Regions from separate parts of the Homo sapiens genome. Here regions 2, 3, 4 and 5 are each linked to region 1. Evidence: promoter capture Hi-C in 16 types of primary human blood cells and fetal thymus (Javierre and others, 2016). All regions are on one chromosome and are shown on one strand. Each heading gives the region's core, a stretch centred on a gene start or on the middle of the fragment in contact. The rest is flanking DNA. Distances are from core to core; before and after follow the strand shown. Region 1 holds the start of NKD1-AS1 (NKD1 antisense RNA 1). Region 2 overlaps ADCY7 (adenylate cyclase 7). Region 3 overlaps ADCY7 (adenylate cyclase 7). Region 4 overlaps ADCY7 (adenylate cyclase 7). Region 5 overlaps BRD7 (bromodomain containing 7).

Evidence for each region. Contacts are between HindIII fragments. The CHiCAGO score rates a contact against its expected background, and 5 or more counts as called.
Region 2: a contact is called between a fragment that was not itself captured here and the fragment with the promoter of NKD1-AS1 in region 1, in 3 of 17 cell types (naive CD4 T cells, non-activated CD4 T cells and total CD4 T cells). The highest score is 7.1, in naive CD4 T cells.
Region 3: a contact is called between a fragment that was not itself captured here and the fragment with the promoter of NKD1-AS1 in region 1, in 7 of 17 cell types (naive CD4 T cells, non-activated CD4 T cells, total CD4 T cells and 4 more). The highest score is 9.3, in naive CD4 T cells.
Region 4: a fragment that was not itself captured here is called in contact with the fragment with the promoter of NKD1-AS1 in region 1 in 3 of 17 cell types (naive CD4 T cells, non-activated CD4 T cells and total CD4 T cells); the score reaches 6.9 in naive CD4 T cells.
Region 5: a contact is called between a fragment that was not itself captured here and the fragment with the promoter of NKD1-AS1 in region 1, in 10 of 17 cell types (naive CD4 T cells, non-activated CD4 T cells, activated CD4 T cells and 7 more). The highest score is 12.1, in naive CD4 T cells.

What each region holds. Positions count from the first base shown.
Region 1 is chr16:50,611,534-50,615,586 of GRCh38, forward strand. NKD1-AS1 (NKD1 antisense RNA 1) reads right to left here and starts at 2,117. Exons shown (of 3, transcript XR_007065197.1): 1 at 2,058-2,117. The region is part of intron 4 of NKD1 (NKD inhibitor of Wnt signaling pathway 1); the gene reads left to right. The HindIII fragment of the contact is 2,641 bases long and covers 483-3,123 here.
Region 2 is chr16:50,280,181-50,284,233 of GRCh38, forward strand. All of the region lies in intron 1 of ADCY7 (adenylate cyclase 7), which reads left to right. Among named protein-coding and RNA genes, the nearest start is that of MIR6771, 10 kb to the right of the region's middle. RefSeq lists an enhancer at 3,754-4,053. The HindIII fragment of the contact is 2,081 bases long and covers 1,012-3,092 here.
Region 3 is chr16:50,297,492-50,301,544 of GRCh38, forward strand. ADCY7 (adenylate cyclase 7) reads left to right here. Exons shown (of 26, transcript NM_001114.5): 8 at 1,413-1,540; 9 at 3,224-3,382; 10 at 3,591-3,723. Among named protein-coding and RNA genes, the nearest start is that of MIR6771, 6.9 kb to the left of the region's middle. The HindIII fragment of the contact is 4,762 bases long and covers 1-4,053 here.
Region 4 is chr16:50,316,602-50,320,654 of GRCh38, forward strand. It overlaps ADCY7 (adenylate cyclase 7), which reads left to right. Exons shown (of 26, transcript NM_001114.5): 26 at 1-1,534. BRD7 (bromodomain containing 7) reads right to left here. Exons shown (of 17, transcript NM_013263.5): 15 at 3,647-3,790; 16 at 3,286-3,429; 17 at 1-2,665. The coding sequence ends at 2,610. Among named protein-coding and RNA genes, the nearest start is that of MIR6771, 26 kb to the left of the region's middle. RefSeq lists an enhancer at 2,493-3,692. The HindIII fragment of the contact is 7,497 bases long and covers 1-4,053 here.
Region 5 is chr16:50,352,685-50,356,737 of GRCh38, forward strand. It overlaps BRD7 (bromodomain containing 7), which reads right to left. Exons shown (of 17, transcript NM_013263.5): 3 at 2,109-2,238; 4 at 1,741-1,798. Among named protein-coding and RNA genes, the nearest start is that of BRD7, 14 kb to the right of the region's middle. The HindIII fragment of the contact is 1,265 bases long and covers 1,770-3,034 here.

The DNA.
Region 1 (4,053 bases), core at 867-3,366:
TTCCTCAGCCCAAGGGTGGATGTGCCTGGAGTTGGTGGTTCTGCCCAGCAGGGAGCAGTGTTAAGACTGAGGCCTGGTGGGGGCTGAGCAGCACTCGGGGAGCTCGGGGCCTGTTCAGCTCTGCAATGGTCCCTAACTTTGCCTTCCTCATCTCTCCTCCCTTGATTCTGACTTCCTGTGAATTCGCAGCTCAGACCCCATTCCAGCCTGGCTTACCCACACTCACTGTGTGACCTTGGGTGAGTCACTTCCCTGTGGCTCAACTTCCTCACTGGGTTCCTTGTAGCACTTCTTTGCCAGGGTTATTGTGAAGACAATGAGGTGATGGATGTAGGTCGCAAGGGTGGCCCTGGTACAGAGTAAGTGCCCAGCACACTTGAGCTGCCATGATTCTTGTTTCCTGGGTTCAGTTTTCTTGAAGAGGTGTCAGCCCGTGTTTATAATCATTTACCTAGCCCAGATCAAAGAGGACCTCTTTGCAAAGCTTCTTTAATCCTGTTAGAATCTCCAAAGGCCTCCCCGTACTCCTGGTGCCTGGAGTAGGGTCTGGCATGCTGTATGTGCTCAATAAATAAACACTCACTGAAGAAGGAAAGTCAATACCCTGTAGTCACTGAAAGCAGGTGACCTCTCCCTCTGCCTCACTGAAAGCAGGTGACCCCTCCCTCCGGCCTCTCAGGCAGGACCTGTGTACCTGTGTTGGGGCCTGGGCCAGTCTGTCCAGGCTCCCAGGGGTCAGATGTTGGGCAAAGGAACTTGGGAGGCCTGTACTTCCTTTCATCTGTAGTTGGAAAACTGAAGCCCAGAGAGGGAAGTGACCTGTCCAGGGTCACACAGCAGACTGAGAACAGAATCTGGCCCCTCACTCCTCACCATTCAGTATGTGCTGGGCATTTGCTGCAGCTAGGGGCTCTGCTGGGCCCTGGGTTCACAGGCACGAGCAAGGTAGGCAGGCCCAGCAGTCACGACATTCACAGGAGGGAGGCAGGGATGAATACATAAATCTGCGAAGGAGCATGGAAGTTTCTAGTAGTGGTTCTCTGCTAAGACGTAAAACCCAGGGAGAGGTAGAGTGAGGAGGCTTTTCTGAGAAGGTGATGTTTCAGCTGAGATGCAGATGCCAGGAAGGAGCCAGCCATGGAAGAATGTAGGGGGAGAGCAGCTATGAGTGAGCAGAACCCCAGAGTGGAGGGAACTTGGTGTTTGGGGAAGAACAAAAAGGAGGCCGATGTGGCATCAGGAATGAGAGTGGGGTGGTCGGCAAGTGTGGGACCACGCCCTTAGGTTGCGTGGTTCTGCCCAGATGGTTGGGTGGGTGACTGCTGGATTCTGACCTCTGTTTTAAGAAGTTAATTCTGGCTTCTGGGAGGGACTGCCCATGGGCAGGGAGGAAGAGGGCAATGAAACCAGGAGGTGACTGCAGGGTCGCAGGCGAGAGGAGATGGTGCTGGCCTAGCCTGGGAGCTTGGGGCTGGGGAGAGGTCCATGGGGCTGGAGGTTGGAGCTGGTGAGAAGGGGGTTGAGGGAACGAGAGAGATCAGGGATGCATCTTAGACTTTTGGTTTCAGGAACTAAGGATTTGGCGGTGTCACTTCTGAGGTGGAGGTTTTGGCGGGTGACCATCAAGCCTCCCGTTTTTGGACCAGTTGGGTTCAAGATGCCCATTTAACATCCAAGGAGAGGTACCGAGGAGGCCGTGGGATACCTGGTGATTGGAGCTTGGGGTTCAAGGAGCAGTTGGGCAAGAAACAGAGAGAGAGAGCGAGTCAAGACTTCTCAGGAAGTAGCCACGGACATTGCCCGGGACTCTCGGGCAAGGCTCCTCAATACACAGGGCTGGCGGTGGCTTCCCAGGAAGGCTGGGAGGAAGAGGAGTTCATGGGAAGGCAGCAGGGACCCCCAGATGGAGGGGCAGGTGCCCATGCCCCGCCGGCTCCTCTCCCTCAGTTCAGAGCCTGTCCTGTCGGGGGGTGTCAGCGGCCCTGACTCTCCACTCCCCTACAGTCCCCCCAGAAGCTGAGTTGCAGCGGTGACAGAGAACAAGCGGACTTTGTTACCTTGGCAGTTTCTCTCAAGTCTGCTCCTCATAAAAGCTCAGCTGGAACAGTGGAAATTCTGACTTGTGTCAGATACCGGAGAGGCTTTAATAGTTTCAAGTAGCTCGGGGTTAGATTGTAAAAGCCGAATTTCATCACATGTTTTAACTTGGGTGGGGGCGGGCGGGGGAGAGTGGAAGGGACGTGATATTTTTAGCCCACAGAAGGCTTTTTCTCCCCTTTCCCCTTCTCTCCCGGGGCTTCCCCCTCCCTCCCTGAACAGATGTTTCGTCTCAATCCTGTTCAGATGTCAAAGCCGAGTGGCCACCAGCCTTATGCTCTGATGAGGAAAAAAAGGCCAGAATGTTATTTGTTGAGAAGGATTTCCTCCCCTACCCGCTTTTCCCCCTTTTTTGTTTCCCCTCAGTTACAATTGGTCCATAAGCAAAATCTAGTGGCAGTAAAATGCAGCTGGGAGGCAGGATGGTGGAGAAGAAGTCCCTGGTGGCATTTCTGGTCTCAGGAAGGGGCAGACACCCACAGGTGAAAAAGCTGGAAATCACCCTAGAGGGACTGCCCTGGGTGAGTGAATTACTGCTGTGGTGCTGGTGCTGGTGGTTTTTCCTAAAAAGCAGGATCTCAGAGAGACGGATTTGTTAAGTCAGGATTCTTTCGGTTCTTTTGGAAACTCACTTAAACTTTTGGCTCATGAAATTGAAAAATCCTAGGGTAGATCTTGCCTAAAAAGGCCTGTTTGGATTCTGGAGCTAAAACCATGTCATGGACACATGCACGCACACACACACACTCACACACACACGTATACTCACACATTCACACACATGTCTCGCTCGCTGCCCCTCTCTCTCCCTCTCCATCATCTCTCCCTCTGTCCCCTGGTGGCTTCTCCCCCACAGGGGGCAAGGGTGGCAGTTCCCAGCTCTGGGCACTCCCATCCTATGAGCACAGCCCTGTCAGGTGGAAGAAAGTTCCCAGGTCACAGGGGTTCTTGCACATGTTGGACTCACTTTATTGACCACTTTACTGGTCACTTGACCAGGGTAGATCTAGGTTTTATGGGACCTGAAGCTTTCTGGGGCCAAACCAAAATAAATATCTCACCAACTCAGTCTCTCCTTAGCTCATGTCCAGAAATGCCTGTATTTCCCCTAGTATCACCTCACACAGGCAAAGGATGTCAGAATGGTTAGATGACAATCTTAATAGATTGAGGATAAAATGCCTAATTTGGAAAATGTTACAAATACAAACACATATGACCACATAAACACCTTGCAAAGACCCATCCTGACTTGGAAAGGGCCCGTGTAGGTGAGAGGGCCCAGAAGCCTAGCTTCATTAGCTTCTTCATAAACTCTTCTTTCATACTGACCTAGGACCAGCCACGTGGCCTTCAGGATGAAACAAGCTGGGTCAGGTAGGGGTACTGAGTGCAGTGTGACCCTGGAGTGGGATCAGTCTCCATAAACTAGATAGACTGAGAGTGGGGGATGAGTAGCTCTGGGGAGGAAAGCCAGATGCTATCATCAGAAGGAGGAGAAGGATTGCTGGACAGGCAGGAACAGGTGTCAGCTATTGTGGTCTGAGAGAGTGGACAGGCCAGTGGTTGAGGAGTTGGGAAACTGGGATTTAGTTCTCTTTGTTCCACAACTTCTGGGTTCAAATCCTGGTTCTGCTACTTACCGTTGTTTCATTTTGATGATGCTGCTGATGATGCAGCACCTATAGTGTGATAGACACTGCACTATAGACATATATATCTCAGGGTATAGATATTGGGCTGATGGAAGATTCTGATGATTAAATGAGTGATATAATGATGGTGTAATAAGGCTCACTGAGCAGGGAAGCCTAACCTAGCCCTGAGGGTGTGACAGCATGCTGCTCAGAGGAAGGGAGGCTTAAACTGAAGACCTGAAGGATGAGTGGGAATTGCAGAGCTGGAAAGAGTGTTCTTGGCAGGGATAACAGCGTGAGAGCATGGCAGGCTCAGAAA
Region 2 (4,053 bases), core at 802-3,301, 330 kb before region 1:
CCAGGAATTTATCCATCTCTTAGGTTTTCTAGTTTTTGTGTGTAGAGGTGTTTGTAGTAGTTTCTGATGGTTGTTTTTTATTTCTGTGGGGTCATTAGTAACATTCCTGTAGTCATTTCTAATTGTGTTTATCTGGATCTTTTCTCTTTTCTTCTTTATTAGTTTAGCTAGTGGCCTATTTTATTAATTTTTTCAAAAAAAAAAAAAACAACTCCTGGATTCGTTGATCTTTTGAATGGTTTTTTGTGTCTTGATTTTCTTCAGTTCAGCTCTGATTTTTGTCATTTCTTGTCTTCTGCTAGGCTTGGGGTTGATTTGTTTTTGCTTCTCTAGTTCTTTCAGTTGTGAAGTTAGGTTGTTAATTTGAGATCTTTCTAAGTTTTTGATTCGGACATTTAGTGCTATGAATTTCCCTCTTAACACTACCCTAGCTGTGTCCCAAAGAATCAAAGAACAACTTTCTACCCATCCCTAGAAGTAGCTCTCTGGGGCCAGGTGAGAACATCAGCCTTTTCCCTCAGTTTTTCTCCAGTTGCCTATCCTTTTCATTAACTGATTCAGCCTCCACCCCCAGCCCAGTCCCAACTAGGCCAGAGCTGGCCTCAGAGGTCTGACACAGCCCCTCCTTTGCAAGAGGGGAAACTAAGGCACAGGTCAGGCAAGAGACTTGTTTAGGGTCACAGAGCAGGTTGGTGGCTAAGCTGGGACTGGAATGCAGGTTTCTGGTCCCCAAGACTGATCAGCAGCCTGTGCCCTGGGAGTGGGAACAAAGTCAGCCTGGGGGTGCTTGGGGGCTATGGAGGGGGAGCAGGGTTGGCTGGGGGCTCATGCCGTTGGGGAATTTCAGTCTTTGCCCCTGCTCGGCAACTTTGCAGGCTGTTAGGAGATGCGGTGGGGGGCCTGCCCACTCTGCACCTGCCTCTCCCTGGACCCCATGGTTGGGCTCTGACCCTGCAGGGCTTCCTCTGACACTAAGCGTGCCTTCTTGGCCATTTGCCAATTTGTCTTGCAAGCTTGGCCTGTTGGACATCATGACCTGTGCAGACAACCTGGTTATCAGCACCCCCAGTTTACTGATGAGGAAACTGAGGCCAGAGTGTGCAGGCGACTGCTATTCACAGGCCATTGGTAGCAGAGCTGGGATTGGGTGCAGGCATCCTCCCAGAGGCCAAGCGTAGCTGGGAGAGGTGTGCTGTGGCAGGTAAGGCAGGTGCGGCAGGTGCAGCAGGTGCTTCCCGATCTTGAGGGAGGCCCTTTCTTCATCTGCCCTCATCCTTTGGCTGTGGCGCCCTCCTCCCTCACCCATGCCACTCTGCGTGCTTCCCCACCCTGGGCCTGGTGCAGGATTCTGGCTGGCTACCCTGCTCGGCCATTCACGTCACAGGTGTTTGCCAGGACCAGCTGCGGGACACACACACACAGATCCCACCACGACAGTTTGGCAAGTCAGGGGCCGGGATATTGGACCCACACTGGGAAGGCCTCTTGGTACGGGAGGTGCCTGGGAGAGCAGGGCATGGGGGCCACAGGGCTCTGGGGACAGAGAGGGCTGGGCTTGGGGGGATGGGACCTTGAATACCAGCAACATTGAATCCCTGGGTCCCACGAGGTTTACTGGGGGCCTCTTAGGTCAGGCTTGCACTGGGCAGAGCAGCTGCTGGCTTCATGGAGCTCAGGGTCTCTTGAGAGAGTTCGCGTTAATATGAGATTCCCTTGGCAAATGAAAAATCTGCCTGAGACCCAGCCTACCAGGGGAGCCGAGAGCCGGCAGGACCGGGGGCGCGAGACGGAGCATGCAGGTTTTTTGTCTGGAGCTGCGTGGCGTCCCAGGCAGGGTGTGGGCCCAGGGGCCTGAGCGGGGCCTCTTCCCTGGAGGCTTCCATGCCCCCCTCACTCCAAGGTCCCCACTTCCCCTTTTTGAGGCCAACAGGGCCCCAAAGCAGCCCTGAGCCTGCTGAGGCTCGGCCGGAGGAAGCCAGGCTGTGGTTTCTGCCAACAGTGGCCGGGTGAGGAAGTGGGTGTCCTGTCTGCATCTGTGAAAGCTGGGGGTTTCTAGAACATACTCCCTGCAAGGGCTGTGGTTGTGCTGGGGACGCTGCCAGATCAGCTGGACTGGGGAAGGATTTTCCGAGCACCCAGGGACCTGGCCCTGCAGTTGCAGTATGGAGTCCCAGCCTCTTGCTTCCAGCAGGTCTTCTGGCTGGAGAACCTGGACCCAGCCAGCCAGTATTTGATAAGGAGACCACAGTCCTGCCTTAGTTGCAGGGAAGGGATAAGGGAGTGTGTGTGGGGTTGCTCAGCAGGCTTCCTGGAGGAGGAGGCCCTCCTGGAGTTCGCTGGCCTGAACTTGCTCCTGCAAGGCAGAGGGAAGTAATTCGATGGGGTCCCCTGAGCTCCCCACCTCTTGGTCATAGCTCTGTCCTGGGCCTTGTTTGTAGGGAAGAGGTTGGTGTTTTGGGATATTATGGGATTTCTGGATGCCAGCCCCATGAGGGTGATAGGGACCCCGGATATCCTGTGTTTAAATCCCAGCTTTTTTTTTTTTTCCAGACAGGATTCTCTATCACCCAGGCAGGAGTGCAGTGGCATGATCATAGTTCAGTGAATGTAGCCTTGACCTCCTGGGTTCAAGCAATTCTCCTGCCTCAGCCTCTCAAGTAGCTTGGACTACAAGTGTATGCCACCAAGCCTGGCTAATTAAAAAAAAAATAAACAACTTTTTATAGCGATGGGGTCTCATTATATTGCCCAGGCTGGTCTTAAACTCCTGAACTCCTGGCTGGGGCTGGGCTGTGGAGCCTGGAAAGTGTGATGGAGGGATGAGCGGGGCTGTCCCCTCCAAGACCCAGCTCCTTTCTGGAGGACTGGCTGTGTCTGCAGGGGCACACTCTTACCTCTGTGCTGACTGAGACCCTTCCAGTTGACTCTGAACCCACTGAGGGGCCACGGGTGCTTGTTAGACGCAACAAACTGGGTCCAGAAGCCTGATGTGGACTTTGAGACTCTTGGTTGCGAGTGACAGAAGCTCAAACTGGCTGAAGCTGAAAGGGGCATTGCTTGTCCCATGTGGTTAAATATCTAGAGGTTGCGTAAGCTTCAGGCACAGCTGGCTCCTGTGACCCCAGGAGGTGTTGCCAGGCCCCTGTCTTGTGCCAGTTCTCCATGTTGGTGTCAGTTTCAGGTGGGCTCTCTCCTTGTGGTGGCTCGGGTGTCTGCTGACAGTGTCAGGTCACCGACAAAAGAGAACGCCTCTTTCCCTGGGTCAGCAGAAGTCCAAAGAGAGCCTTCACTTCCCAGGCCTGTGGCATTAGGGCTTGAGAGGGACTTTGCTGATTGGCCACACTGGGGTCATGTGGCCCATGAACCAGGGTACTGAGGGTCGGGAGAAGGGACATTGCACAGCAGAAGCATGAAATACCCTCCTCCCATGTGGACACCTTCCCCACAGGGGAGTCCCCTCTTCTTTAAAATGGGGCTGCTCACCCTGCTCTACCACTGGGGTGGTCGTGAGGTGAGAGTAAGTAAGGGACCCCCTGGGACTGCAGTCTCCTCAGGAAGAGGGGACGTGATACCTCTGCTCTTGGTGGCTTTGGAGTTCAGACAGGACCCATGCGGTGTGGGTGAGGGAGTGACAGGGAGGCAGGGCTTGCCTTGAGCTAAGGGAGGACTCAGGGCCAGAAAAAGTGCCCAGTGATGGAGGAGACTGCCCTGAGAGGTGGTGAGCCCCCCCGTCATGGAGGTGTGCAAGCTAACAGCAGGGTCATTCAATCCGGGAGCCCTGGATTGGATGTGTCTCAGACATGGCAGAAGGATTCCTTTATCCAGGGCCTTGTGGGGAGGCCCTCCCTGTTGCCAACTGAGTCGAGGGCTGGTGGAAGAACTGGTGATTGGACAGGAGGCCTTGAAAACTTCCCGGGCAGGGGGTGCCTCTGGGTCTGGCTTTGGCGGGGTGGCTCCTAGGGAGGAGCTGGCCTGGGGACATGCCACTGGTGGTGGGTTCCTGGGCCCCCTCTGGAGATGTGATCAGTGAGTTCATTCCCCCCAGGCCTCACG
Region 3 (4,053 bases), core at 461-2,960, 310 kb before region 1:
AAGCCACTGTCCTCTTGTCCTTGCAGTCACTCAGAACTCACTCAGCATGTGCCAGATGGGGCCCAGCAGGAAACATCTGGCACACGCTGAAACTGAGTAATTGGCGGAGGGCACAGGCCAGGGATGGTTCCCAGGCTGGGCAGGTGCAGGGGACCTGGAGGCAGGGCTGGTGCTGTGTCTGGGGCCTGGGTCTGTGATGGCTGATGGGCACAGAGTAGGGACGAGGACAGGATAGGCTCGAGTCCTGGAGACAGATGGTGTTCCAGGAGCAGGCCTAGCCCTCGTGAGCCTGCAGGACAGAGCCCTCTTAGCTCCCTCCTGGCCAGAAGCCAGAGCACAGGGCCACCTGCTGGGGCGTCCAGTCCGAGGGTCAGCTGAGTGGGGTAGAGGGTGGGGAGGGGAGAGCAGAGGCAGATGGCGCTCCTTCTTCAGCTCCCCTAAAGCCCCACCCATGAGGCCTCGGTGCATGTGGCCACCCTTGCTGAGGGCTTAAGGAGGGTCTGGTGACGCAGCAGTGCCTCAGATGAACCTCAGAGGGCTCTCGGGGGTCCCCTTCTCTCCCTGGGCCTTTTCCTATGAGTCCCCACCCTCGCCGCTCTCCTACTCTGCCCTCCCCATTCCCTCTTTCCTCTCTGCATTGATATCTTTCCTCCCCACCCCTAAGCCCTGTCAGCACAGCCACTGCTTGGGTGACCTTGAAACCTGCTGATCCCTTGGTGTGTACACCTGTGACCTCTGTCCTCACCCCCCACTCCTGCAGCCTCCTGGCTACCTCGCAGTCTCTTCCCCAGCTTTGTGGCCCCAGGGCTCCTGTGAGTCCTTGAGTACTCTTCCTGCAGAGACTGGCATGGCCGGCTCTCTCGGTTCCTCGGGGTCTTAGCTCAAATGTTTCTGATTCCAACTCTGAGAGGTCTTCGCTGGCCTCCTGGGAACATCACTTCCCTCCTGTGCCTTGGTTTTCTCCTTAGCCCCCATCACAGCTGGGCACACTGTTTTGTTTTTGTCTTTCTAGTTTAGTGCCCACCCCTCCTGCCTACGTGCAAGCTCCGTGGCTGCAGAGATTTGCATCTATTTTGTTCACTGCTGTGTCCCCTTGCCTGGCCTGGGGCCGGGTACTCAGTAGGCACTCAAACATTACCTGGGCAAATGAAACCAAGGCAGACCCCTCCCCGAGGCCCTTAGGAACACTCGTGTTCACCTCTGGTGCTTGCCTGGGGGTTCCTCCTGGGGAGGCCCCCATGTCGCTAAGCCTTTTGCCAGGCCCAGAAGTGGCTCCTGGTGACTGGACCCCAGGAGGCAAGCCCCCAGCCAGGAGAGAGCCGGGTGCACCCTGGAGGGTGGGGGGAGGCGGCTGTCGTGAGAGGTCCCAGCCCCACATCTTCCAGTGACCAGGCCCTTCCCTCACCCTGCAGGCCAACGAGTGCATGCGAATCAAGATCCTCGGCGACTGCTACTACTGTGTATCGGGCCTGCCCGTGTCGCTGCCTACCCACGCCCGGAACTGCGTGAAGATGGGGCTGGACATGTGCCAGGCCATCAAGTAGGTCCTGGGCGGGCCCAGGCCCTGGGTCCTGCCCTGTGGCGGACCCTCCTGGGCATGGTAGGGGATGTGTCATTCTCATGTCACAGATGGGGAAACTGAGGCTCGGGGGGTTGGGGGTGAAAGCAGCTTGCCTGGACCACCCAGCCTGCTGGAGGATTCAGACTTCATCTGTTTGCGTCCCTCCCTGTGGTGCTGCCTGTGACTCTGAGTCCCAGAAAGCATCTCCGGAGCTCAGAGCTGGGTGATGTGAGGTCAGGGCGGTGGGCTCCGCTCCCCTCAAGGATGGGGTCTTAGCAACAGCAGGAGGCTTCAGGGTAGGCAGCCGGGGGACCTTTCCGACCCAGGGGTCGACTCCAAGGCTCCATCTGCTTCCTGCTCCCCAGTGAAGATCCTGGAGTCAGGCTTGGTCCTGAGGCTGCGGGGAGACCCCCCGCTCCCCTCTAGGTCCCCTGTGGCTCTGAGCAGCTGGGGTCTGTGGGAGGAATTTGCCGAGAGGGCTGTATGGGGAGAGGGCCAGGCAGGCCCAGCCAGGCTGACCAGTGTGGGGCAGAGCAGGGCCCGGTGGGGCTGCCCGTCCTGGATATCAGGCCGTGTTCCAGCCTGTCCTTCTCCTGAAGTCCTGCCATAGGTGGCTGGTGTTGCCAGAAAGAAGCCTGGGCAGAGCTGGAGGGGCCTGGCCTGCACCACTGCCTGTGTGACCTCAGGCTGGCCCCTGCCCTGTAACAGGCGGAGGTTGTACAGGCCCTCGTGCACCTCTGGTTCCGACCCTGGAAGGCTTGGTCAGTGCCCAGCCTTGTTGGTGGACACGTGGTGCCGCTTGTCATGGGGACTCAGGCTCTGTTCCTGTCTTGGGCGTCCCCTGTGCCCCAAGGAAGCTCTCCCGTGGGGCTCTGCTCCTGTGCTCAGTGGTGCTAACAACTCCCAGGGCCCCTGCTTCCCAGGGATTGGGGGGGCATAGAAGGTGCCCATGGTCTGGGCCCCTGTGTTCCTTGTCTATGCTAGGTTTTGGGTGGTTCCTGGACCCCCTCTGTAGACGCCAGTAAACTTTATTTATTTATTTATTTATTTGAGATGGAGTCTCGCTGTGTTGCCCAGAGCGTATCTCGGTTCACCACAACCTCTGCCTCCTGGGTTCAAGCGATTCTCCTGTCTCAGCCTCCCAAGTAGCTGGGACTACAGGCGCCTGCTACCATGCCCGGCTAATTTTTATATTTTTAGTAGAGTCAGGGTTTTGCCATATTGGCCAGGGTGGTCTCAAAACTCCTGACCTCAGGTGATCTGCCTGCCTCAGCCTCCCACAGTGCTGGGATTACAGGCATGAGCCACCACGCCCGGCCCCCAGTAAACTTTTAAAACCCAGCCGGTGCTGCTGGGCAGGGAAAACACCCAGTGATGGTATTTTAGGTCCATCAACATGGGCTGTAGTGACTAGTTGGAATTCCTCCTCCCTCCTACCTAGTCCTTGAGGTCAGCTGTGGCCACACCTACTTGTATGCTCCTGGGGATGGGGCACTCAGCTCTTCCTGAAGAGGCAGCCCCATCAGGCTGAGAACATTCTCTCCCGTGGGCTGAGCGCCTGCCCTGTTCCCACATGCTGCCCTGTACCCACCCCACACCTGGGAGCTTCAGCCTGTCCCAGGGCTTAGGCAGGGCTGGGGTGACTGGGCCACTCTGCCCCAGGCAGGTGCGGGAGGCCACGGGCGTGGACATCAACATGCGTGTGGGCATACACTCGGGGAATGTGCTGTGCGGGGTCATCGGGCTGCGCAAGTGGCAGTATGACGTGTGGTCCCACGACGTGTCCCTGGCCAACCGGATGGAGGCAGCCGGAGTACCCGGGTGAGGCTGGGCTGGGTAGCCGCAGGGACAGAGGCCTGGGGCTGGCTGTGGATGGAGGGTTCTGCGGTTGGGGGTGGGGGTCAGGTGTGGAGGGAGAGATGAATGTAGAAAAGCTGGCCTGGGGCCCAGGCCTGCCTGCTGTGCATCCCTGGGTGGATGCCAGCCCTCTCTGGGCCCCAAGGCTCTGCCTGACTTGGGTCTCCCGTAGCCGGGTGCACATCACGGAGGCCACGCTAAAGCACCTGGACAAGGCGTACGAGGTGGAGGATGGGCACGGGCAGCAGCGGGACCCCTACCTCAAGGAGATGAACATCCGCACCTACCTGGTCATCGACCCCCGGGTACGAGGGCTCAGAGGCCGCAGCTGGGGGGGACCCGGAGGGACTGGAGGGGCCCTGGAGAGCCTGGCCCGCACCTTGGAGGAAACCCCCATGTGGAGGGAGAGGTGGGGAAGGGCCCTGCCTGGGCAGGAGTGAGCTCCCTGTTCCCAGGCACATTCTAGGCACCGAGTAGCCACTCCCTGGGCCTCCATTCTTTTCTATGTGATGGGAAAACAGCGCCTGCCTCACCAGAAGGAGCTAATCCGAGCGAGGCCTTCACAGTGCGCCTGGCACGTCACAGCATTCTATGTATTCTCGTCACTCTTGGTTTATTTTCCATGAGGTGGTTAT
Region 4 (4,053 bases), core at 861-3,360, 290 kb before region 1:
GGATCTGGGAAGCCCGCCCCCTCACAAATGCTGAGCCGTTCTTGCTCTGAAACTGCGTGAGTCAAGGCAAATGCAAAAAGCCAGGTTTTGGGGATGTGTCTTACTGTGCTTCAACTTCCCAAGGAATTGAAAGTCAACCTAACTGTAACAACAGGGTGAGAAATGACCAAACTGCCCGTGACTTTTTCTGAATGGACTTCATAACCGGAAGACTTAACCGGTGGCCTCATCACCAGAGCATCGCCAGGATTTCTAATGCACTCAGTTTCCCTACATAGCAGGGATTCTTAGCTAGGTGTCCCCATGAACCCCGTAAAGTTCTACACAAAGTCTTGCATACAGGAGCCTTTACAAGATGATTATACAGGGTTGCAGATTGGGTGACTGACCAGACTTGTTGGGGTCCTGGGATGAGTTGCCCCGGGCTGCAAATTAAGAGTACAGCTAAGTGCGGGGGTGGCGGTGGAGGGAACGAAAATTGAACCTGTCTGCCTGTGCTGTGTCGTGTGGCTTTATCAGCCCGAGGAAGGGCAGGTGTATTCTAATTTGCACAAAGGTGCTGGGTAGACTAGTGGCAGCTCTCATGTGCTGCACATAAGTGGAATCAGTATGAATAGAAGAACTTGCTGTATAAAGGAATTTCATGGCAACAATGCTGGTAAGGGCAATTAGCCTCGCTTAAGTTGCCTTTTTTACACACCAAAACTTTTTACATGAAGGGCTGGTTTCACATGAATACTATACTGAAATCTGTGCTCTCAAGATCTAGCAGTGACCAGGGCTGCCCGGCGGGGGCTCTCCTGGCAAGTCAGGAAGGTTTCTGTTGCTAATATAACATAGAAACACATTAGTGCACTGGGCCTCTCTGAGGTCAGCATATTTGTACTCTTGGAATATTTGTTTTTTTCTTCAGTAACAACAGAAACCCCAGTTGGGAGTTTAACAAATAACTGACTACCACTCACTCATGCATTTTTATTTCCAATTAAAGCAAAGCACTGTGCTGTGCTCAGATAATAATAGTTTGTAAGTAAAAGTTTTTAGTTTTCAGTGTTCAGGTTATAGAATATAACTGACCATAAAAATTACCTGCAGGTATTTTCTTTTTATGAACTTGTTTTTAAATTACCAAGTAATTACTGGTGTCATTTTGTTTTATGACAGACACACGTATCTAACAAACAAACAAACAGTGACCTTCTCCATGGGTCAAGGACTTCCTTACAATTTCTCCTGAGTTAACTTTTGTGAAAATAATACCTAAGGTTTTCTGGCTTATTGAGGAAATTTCCTAACAAACAAACAAACAAACAAACAGAAGAGAAGATCATTAACCACTGTATACTTTGTGTATATAATAGGTCAGTGTAAAGAAATATGATTTGAGGTGGTGCATGCAAGTAACTAGGGTTTATTCTATATAATGAATATTTATAGATCTGTAACATTTGTTTCAAAATGCTGTTTCATTTTTATAAAGTACCAGTGTTTAGCTGCTTTTTATACATTAAATTAGCAATTTGAAAAACTCAAATATCTGAAGGTATTTTATTTTCGTGGTCCTCATGAACTCACTAGAGATTAAAAGTAGACTCAAACAACTTGAAAATTTGACTCTTTTAGCATAAGATTTTAAGTCTTTTGAGGGAATTAATTTTCCTTTACCCTATTTGTTCTTCCTAAATACTAATTAATTTTCAAAGTCAGGAAAATAATAGAAATCAAATGGCTTCCTGCCTGGGTGATTTATAGAAGGATTGTATAAGGGCCTTCAAACTTAATTTGTTCACTGAACAAGGCTATCTATCTATCTATCTCCATCCTGATTTTTTTCCCTTGTGTATAACAGGTTCTATACCGATTCAGCAAAATCACCATTTATCTCAGCTTGCTGATAAAAGGGGGCCATGAATCTTGTGGTCTCCTACTTAGAGTTCAACTCCTTGGGTACTTGACCTTTGTATTTCAGATAAACAGTAAGTAAAGTAGAAATGTCACCTTTTGGTAATCTGGTAATTCCCTGATCTATTCAAGGATGACTTAGTTTATCTTATTTGGCTTATTACTTTGCTATAGTACTAAGTAACTCCTCTTTCTTTAAAAAACGGAAAAAACCAAAAAAGAACACTAGCCATGTGACAGTGCTATAAAACTCCCAGTGTGCTTTTGTCAGGGGTGGGTGGGAGGTGCCTAATTACCCATACAAGGGCATCATTCCCACTGGGTATGCAGGGGCAGAACCACAGTAGTAAATTCTAAAATTATTTCAAGTATGTTCGTATAACGGAAAATCTCACTGGATGGGGCCGTTTTAAGAACGCTTCTTAGTGATGATCCTGTCTGTGGGACATAAGGAAGAAGCATTGGAAGGCACTATTTTGAAAGAATGCTGCACAGGTATGGCAACAGCCCCAAGCACATTCCTTCCTCACGAGTCCCAGGTCCAGCTTTATTACCTAATACAAGTCCAACCTCTGGAACATCCAAATTCGCTGTTCCAAAGTTTAATTAAAAACACAATTTACAAATATTTAATATCTTCTGAAAAGCATTTCTAAGTTAAGAATGAAAAAGTATGTACATAATATATAATCAAATACCAGGCAGCCTCAACTTCCACCAGGTCCACACTCAGCAACATCCGTCTTTTTAGGTTCTTCAGTGTCTGAAAGAAAAAGACATCACTTAATTCAACATTGTTTTTACCTTTTAATTAAAAAGGGGACATGAAAGTCAAGCTGCCATCCAGAAGCATAACTGCTGAGAGCCCTTCTTCACCACATCCAAGGCTGAAGACTACGCGCATTATCAGGTGATCATTGTGGCTCTTCTGCACACAGGAAATCTTTATTAATTCTTTAGACAAGATAAAAAGAAAACTAAGAGTAGTTTATACATTAAAAACAGATAAATGTTCCTTTTACAGTTGACCCTTCTTATCCATGGGTTCCACATCTGCAGATTCAACCAACTGCCAATTAAAAATATTTGGGGAAAAAACCCAATTAAAAAAATACAACAAACAATGAAAAAAATATAAAAAATACAGTCTATTAACTACATTCTATGAAGTATATAAGTAGAGATGATTTGAAGTATACTGGAGGTTGTGTGTAGGGTATAGGCAAATACCTTTTATGTTAGGGACTTGAGCATCTACAGATTTTGCTATCTTTGTGGGGTAAATACCAAATCCGAGGTCCTGATACCAATCTCGGGCAGACACTGAGGGATGACTATAGTCACCATAGCTTTCTGCTTTCCCAGAGAAAACAGGGCACGTACCTTCTGTCAAATCCACAAAGTTGTTTTCCATGACGGGGGAAGGAATGGAAATCCCCATTGCTTTTCGAACTCCATACGTGCTTACGATATCACCTGGAGTTACTTGCTGTGCAAGTTCTTTAAGATTATTGGTCACTTGTTCAGCTAAAAAGAAAAACAAAGTTCCAGATACTAAAGCATGGTTCCTTTAGATAGAGGCATCCCAAAGAACAGTAAATGTACACATGCAAAGAAAACAAAACAAAAAAACTGTCCCTGGGATTCACATCAGCATTACTCTATAGTGGCATCACCACTGTACTCAAGAAGTTTTTTCTTTGAAGCATCCCGTGACTCTCCTCTTATGGGAGGCAAAACATACCAAGATGCATTTCTCTGTATGAGGGACCCAAGAGACAGATCATGTTCGGAGGGGGTCTGGTGCTCAAACGTTCATTCTGGGCTTCCTGGAGTTCCCTGAGCAATCTGGTGGTCTCATCAAGTTTCTTCTGGAATATTTCAGCTTCTGTGTGGTAAGAAAACAGACACACTTCTGTTTGATCTTGTGCAGTAAACCGAATCCTAGGCTCTAGGGCTTTGCTAATTATTGGTTAGCCTTCTCCCTTCAAAAGAGTAATCCGCTTGAAATGACATCAACACGCCATACCCATTCATTTAACTTGGTAAGCCAAGATCTTCCTGTGGTGAATGGCTATGTTAATCTGTACTTATGAGACATGAAATCTTGACTGCCTACATCATGCAGTGTTTCAATCAAACCCTCTGGAG
Region 5 (4,053 bases), core at 1,152-3,651, 260 kb before region 1:
CATTCTTGCCAGCTTTGTTTTTTTTTTTTTTTTGTCTTTTGATAACAGGCATTCTAATTGGGGTGAGGTGATTTTGACTTGCATTTCTCTGATTATTAGTGATGGTGAGCATTTTTTCATATACCTGTTGGCCATTTGAATGTCTTCTTTTAATTAAGTCATTTCTTTTAAGGTGACATCATTAACCTACATTCTGGCCTTACGTTGCAAGAAAAACTCTAAGGCAGCCATGACATTTTACAGTCACACCTTGTAAATTGCAATGGAATACCCAATACCTATTCACTCCTTTCGGACAAGTAGTGAAGTAATGAACAAGTTATTTAAATATAAAGACTAGATGTAATTTTTCTCAAACACCAAAAAAGAAGAGAGATCAGTAAGTTCTTTTTTTTTTTTTTTTAGAAAAGATCTCATTCTGTTGCCCAGGCTGGAGTGCAATGGTGCTATCACAGCTCACTGTAGCCTCAACCTCTTGGGCTCAAGTGATCCTTCCACCTCAGTCTCTGGAGCTGGGACTACAGGTGTGTGCAACCACACTAGGATAATTTTTATTTTTTTGTAGAGATGGGGTCTCACTATGTTGCCCAGGCTGGTCTTAAACTCCTGGCCTCAACTGATCCTCCCACCTCAGCCTCCCAAAGTGTTGGGATTACAGGTGTGAGCTACTATACTCGGTTAACTTCTGATCTTAACTGCAAACCTGAACAGGCATTGAATACAGATTACATTAGAGAAAAATTATTTACAATGTGTTCTGGGTTGACTTAAGTTCAATACAATGAAAGAAAGTCCACTGTAAAAATGTATGATCTACAACCATAAACCCTTTGCAAATAATGGAAATATCTTTGAGCTGAAAATTTAAACTCTGAGTAGAGAGATATCAAAATAAATATATTTTATTTATTTATTTATTTATTTTTTGAGACGGAATCTTGCTCTGTTGCCCAGGCTGGAGTGCAGTGGTGCAATCTCGGCTCACTGCAAGCTCCATCTCCTGGGTTCACACCATTCTCCTGCCTCAGCCTCCCAAGTAGCTGGGACTACAGGCGCCCATCACCATGCCTGGCAATTTTTTTTTTTTTTTTTTTAAGTACAGATGGGGTTTCACCATGTTAGCCAGGATGGTCTCAATCTCCTGACCTCGTGATCTGCCCGCCTCGGCCTCCCAAAGTGCTGGGACTACAGGCGTGAGCCACCACACCCGGCCCAAAATAAATATTTTAATAAAGATTGAGTTATTCTTTTCCCTTTTAAGAACTCAACAGTAGCTTAATCTAGGCACTGAAATTTTTAGAACCAATTTCTGCATTTAAAAGAAGGCCATAATTCCTATTTATGGTGTTTTATTTTTTCTCCCATACTTAATAATTGCTAAACATTTGTGGCATGATAAGCATTGTACAAATACATAGAAGGTATTTCCATCTATTAGCAAAGTGGAAATATCTGTATTGTTTATTCCTGGCTTAAAGTTTTAACATCAGAAATTACTTTAGAGACAGAAATTTGTCATTAAAAGTATTATGTAACACCCTTCAAGTTGCCAGGGAAACAAACCAAATAAAGAATATCTAAAAGTTAGCCTAGCCTCTTGGAGTACTTCTGCTGCCAGGCAAAATATTTATCATTCACTTTAAAATCACGTATGTTTGGAGTTAGGCACAAATGTGGTTTGGATCCTACACATCTACCATTTTAATTTCTATGTTATAAAAATATTGGAAAAACATTTACCTCTGCAATTGTCTCATCAGTTGATTCAAAGCTTCTTGAAGGGGTGTCTGTTCTACTTCTAAAGCAAAGAAGAAGGGAAAAGGGTATTTTAAAAAGGAGTATTCTAGAGAGTATTATTTACTAGATCATTTTCTACAACCATTATTAAATATCTCATACAGAAATTCCATTTATCTTAAAAATATATTGAAGTTTGAGAGTATTAATCCAAAATTGAAGCTAATTTAAAGCTCTTATGCAGTTTGAGAGAAAAAACTTAAAAATTCAATCACAAAGCTCCAACTTAGAAGCTAAAACCCCACCATTTTCCTGAGCTATAATGATTTCAGCCTCCTCATTCAGGATAGTTAATTCAGAGTTATTCCAACCTTCTTGTTTGGCTAAAGAGCTTGTGAGAGGCTTCTCAGGAGGCAAGTCTAATCTCACAGGGGCGTGACACTGGAGATCTTTTTCTGCCTCATTCTCCACCCGGTCTCGATCTCGCTTCTTTTTATCCTCCTAAATGGAACAAAGGGAGATAATTTAGAAATATTTCAGAACCAATATCTTTAAATACATAAATCATTTTAAGGGGTAAAAAGACATCATTGTAAAGAAAATATTCTTAATAACAAGCTCAATGTACTTTACTGCCATCTACTGGAAAAGGAGAGAATAATACGTTCACGAAGGAAAAAACAAAGGGGGTCTCTATGCCAGAAATAACCAGTTAGAAAAACAATACTATCCAAAAAAGCAACATAGTGTATATAGAAATAAATCTAATAAAAGATACCCAAAACCTTTTGGGAAAAACTGTGAAACATTACTGAAGGTCACAGAAGGCCTGAATAAAGGAGATATACTATGTTCATGAATTCAGAGTCAATCCTCTCTCAAGTTATCAATACATTCGATGTAATGCCAATCGAAATTTAAAAACAAAAATTTCCATGGAATTCAACAAGCCAATTGCATTAATTTACCTCGAAGAGTGAACGATTAAGAACACAATAGTTTTGAAAAAGGTCAGAGTAAGATGATACGTCTTACCAGATATTATTTGTATAACGTGATAATAAGACAATGTGGGTCTGACACACAGACAAATAAGCCAACAGAAGAGATCAGAGCCCAGAAACAGACCCATGTACATAGAATAATCTTAGTATATCACAGAGGTGACATTATAAGTCAATGACAAAAGGGTGGTGCTGAGACAACTGTTACCTGAAAAGAGAAAATAGAATTTGAGCTCTACTTCATGCCATACACAAAAGTGAATTCCAGATAAAGACTTAAATGTACAAAGCAAAGCTTCAGAACTTCAGATAAAAGAAAAGCATCTTTAAGACCCAAGAGTAGAAAAAGACTTTCTTAAAAAGATATAAAATGAATAAATTTTAAAGGAAAACCTTGATAAATTTGATATTAAGTTGATAAATTTTGGTACCTCAACAAAATCCATGAACCAAGTTAAAAATCTAACGATAGACTGAGATAAAGTACTTGAAACACAACTTATAAAACATTAAGGATTCCATGAAGAGCATCTATAAATCTATGCAAAAAGGCAAAAAATCCAAAAAAGAAATAGATAAGTGATATCACAGGTAACTCACAGAATAAGAAATGTGAAATGTTGAGAACATGAGAACTAGCTCAAGCTCCCTAGAACTTGGGTAATTATAGATTTAAAAACTAGAAGGCATTTCGCCTCTCTTTGGCAACATTTGTCTGAAATGTCAAGTTTTGATAAAAATGTAGAGAAATGGGATTTTCATACCTTGCAATTGGGTGAATAGGAACAATCCTTAGCAGAGCAATTAGCAATATCTAGCAAAGCTAGCAAAGCCTTTAACCTACTTCTCAACTGCTACTCTCTGTGCATATACCAGAGAAATTTCCTGTCGTATGGTCTACATGGAGACTTGTAAGAGATTACTGCAGCATTGTTTAAAATAGTAAAAAATAGGAATAATCCAATGCCTATTAAAAGGAAAATAGATTAATAAATTGTGTCATATTTACATAACAGGTAATGTAAATGAGCTAAAATTGTATTGTATCAACATGGATAACATTCAGAAACAATGTCTGAAGAAAAGTTGCAGAACAATTACTGTTACAAGCTATGTATGAAAATGTGTAAGCATACATTGTTTACAGATGTATGCAGAACTTGTAATTATAAAAACATGCATGTGATATACACCAAATTCAGTACAGTGGTTCTATCAGAAGGAAAGACAGAAATGGGACTCTGAAAGGGTATAAGGGATCTCTGTCTGCCCTCTTCTTTCCTTAGGGGAAAAAAAAAATATATATATATAT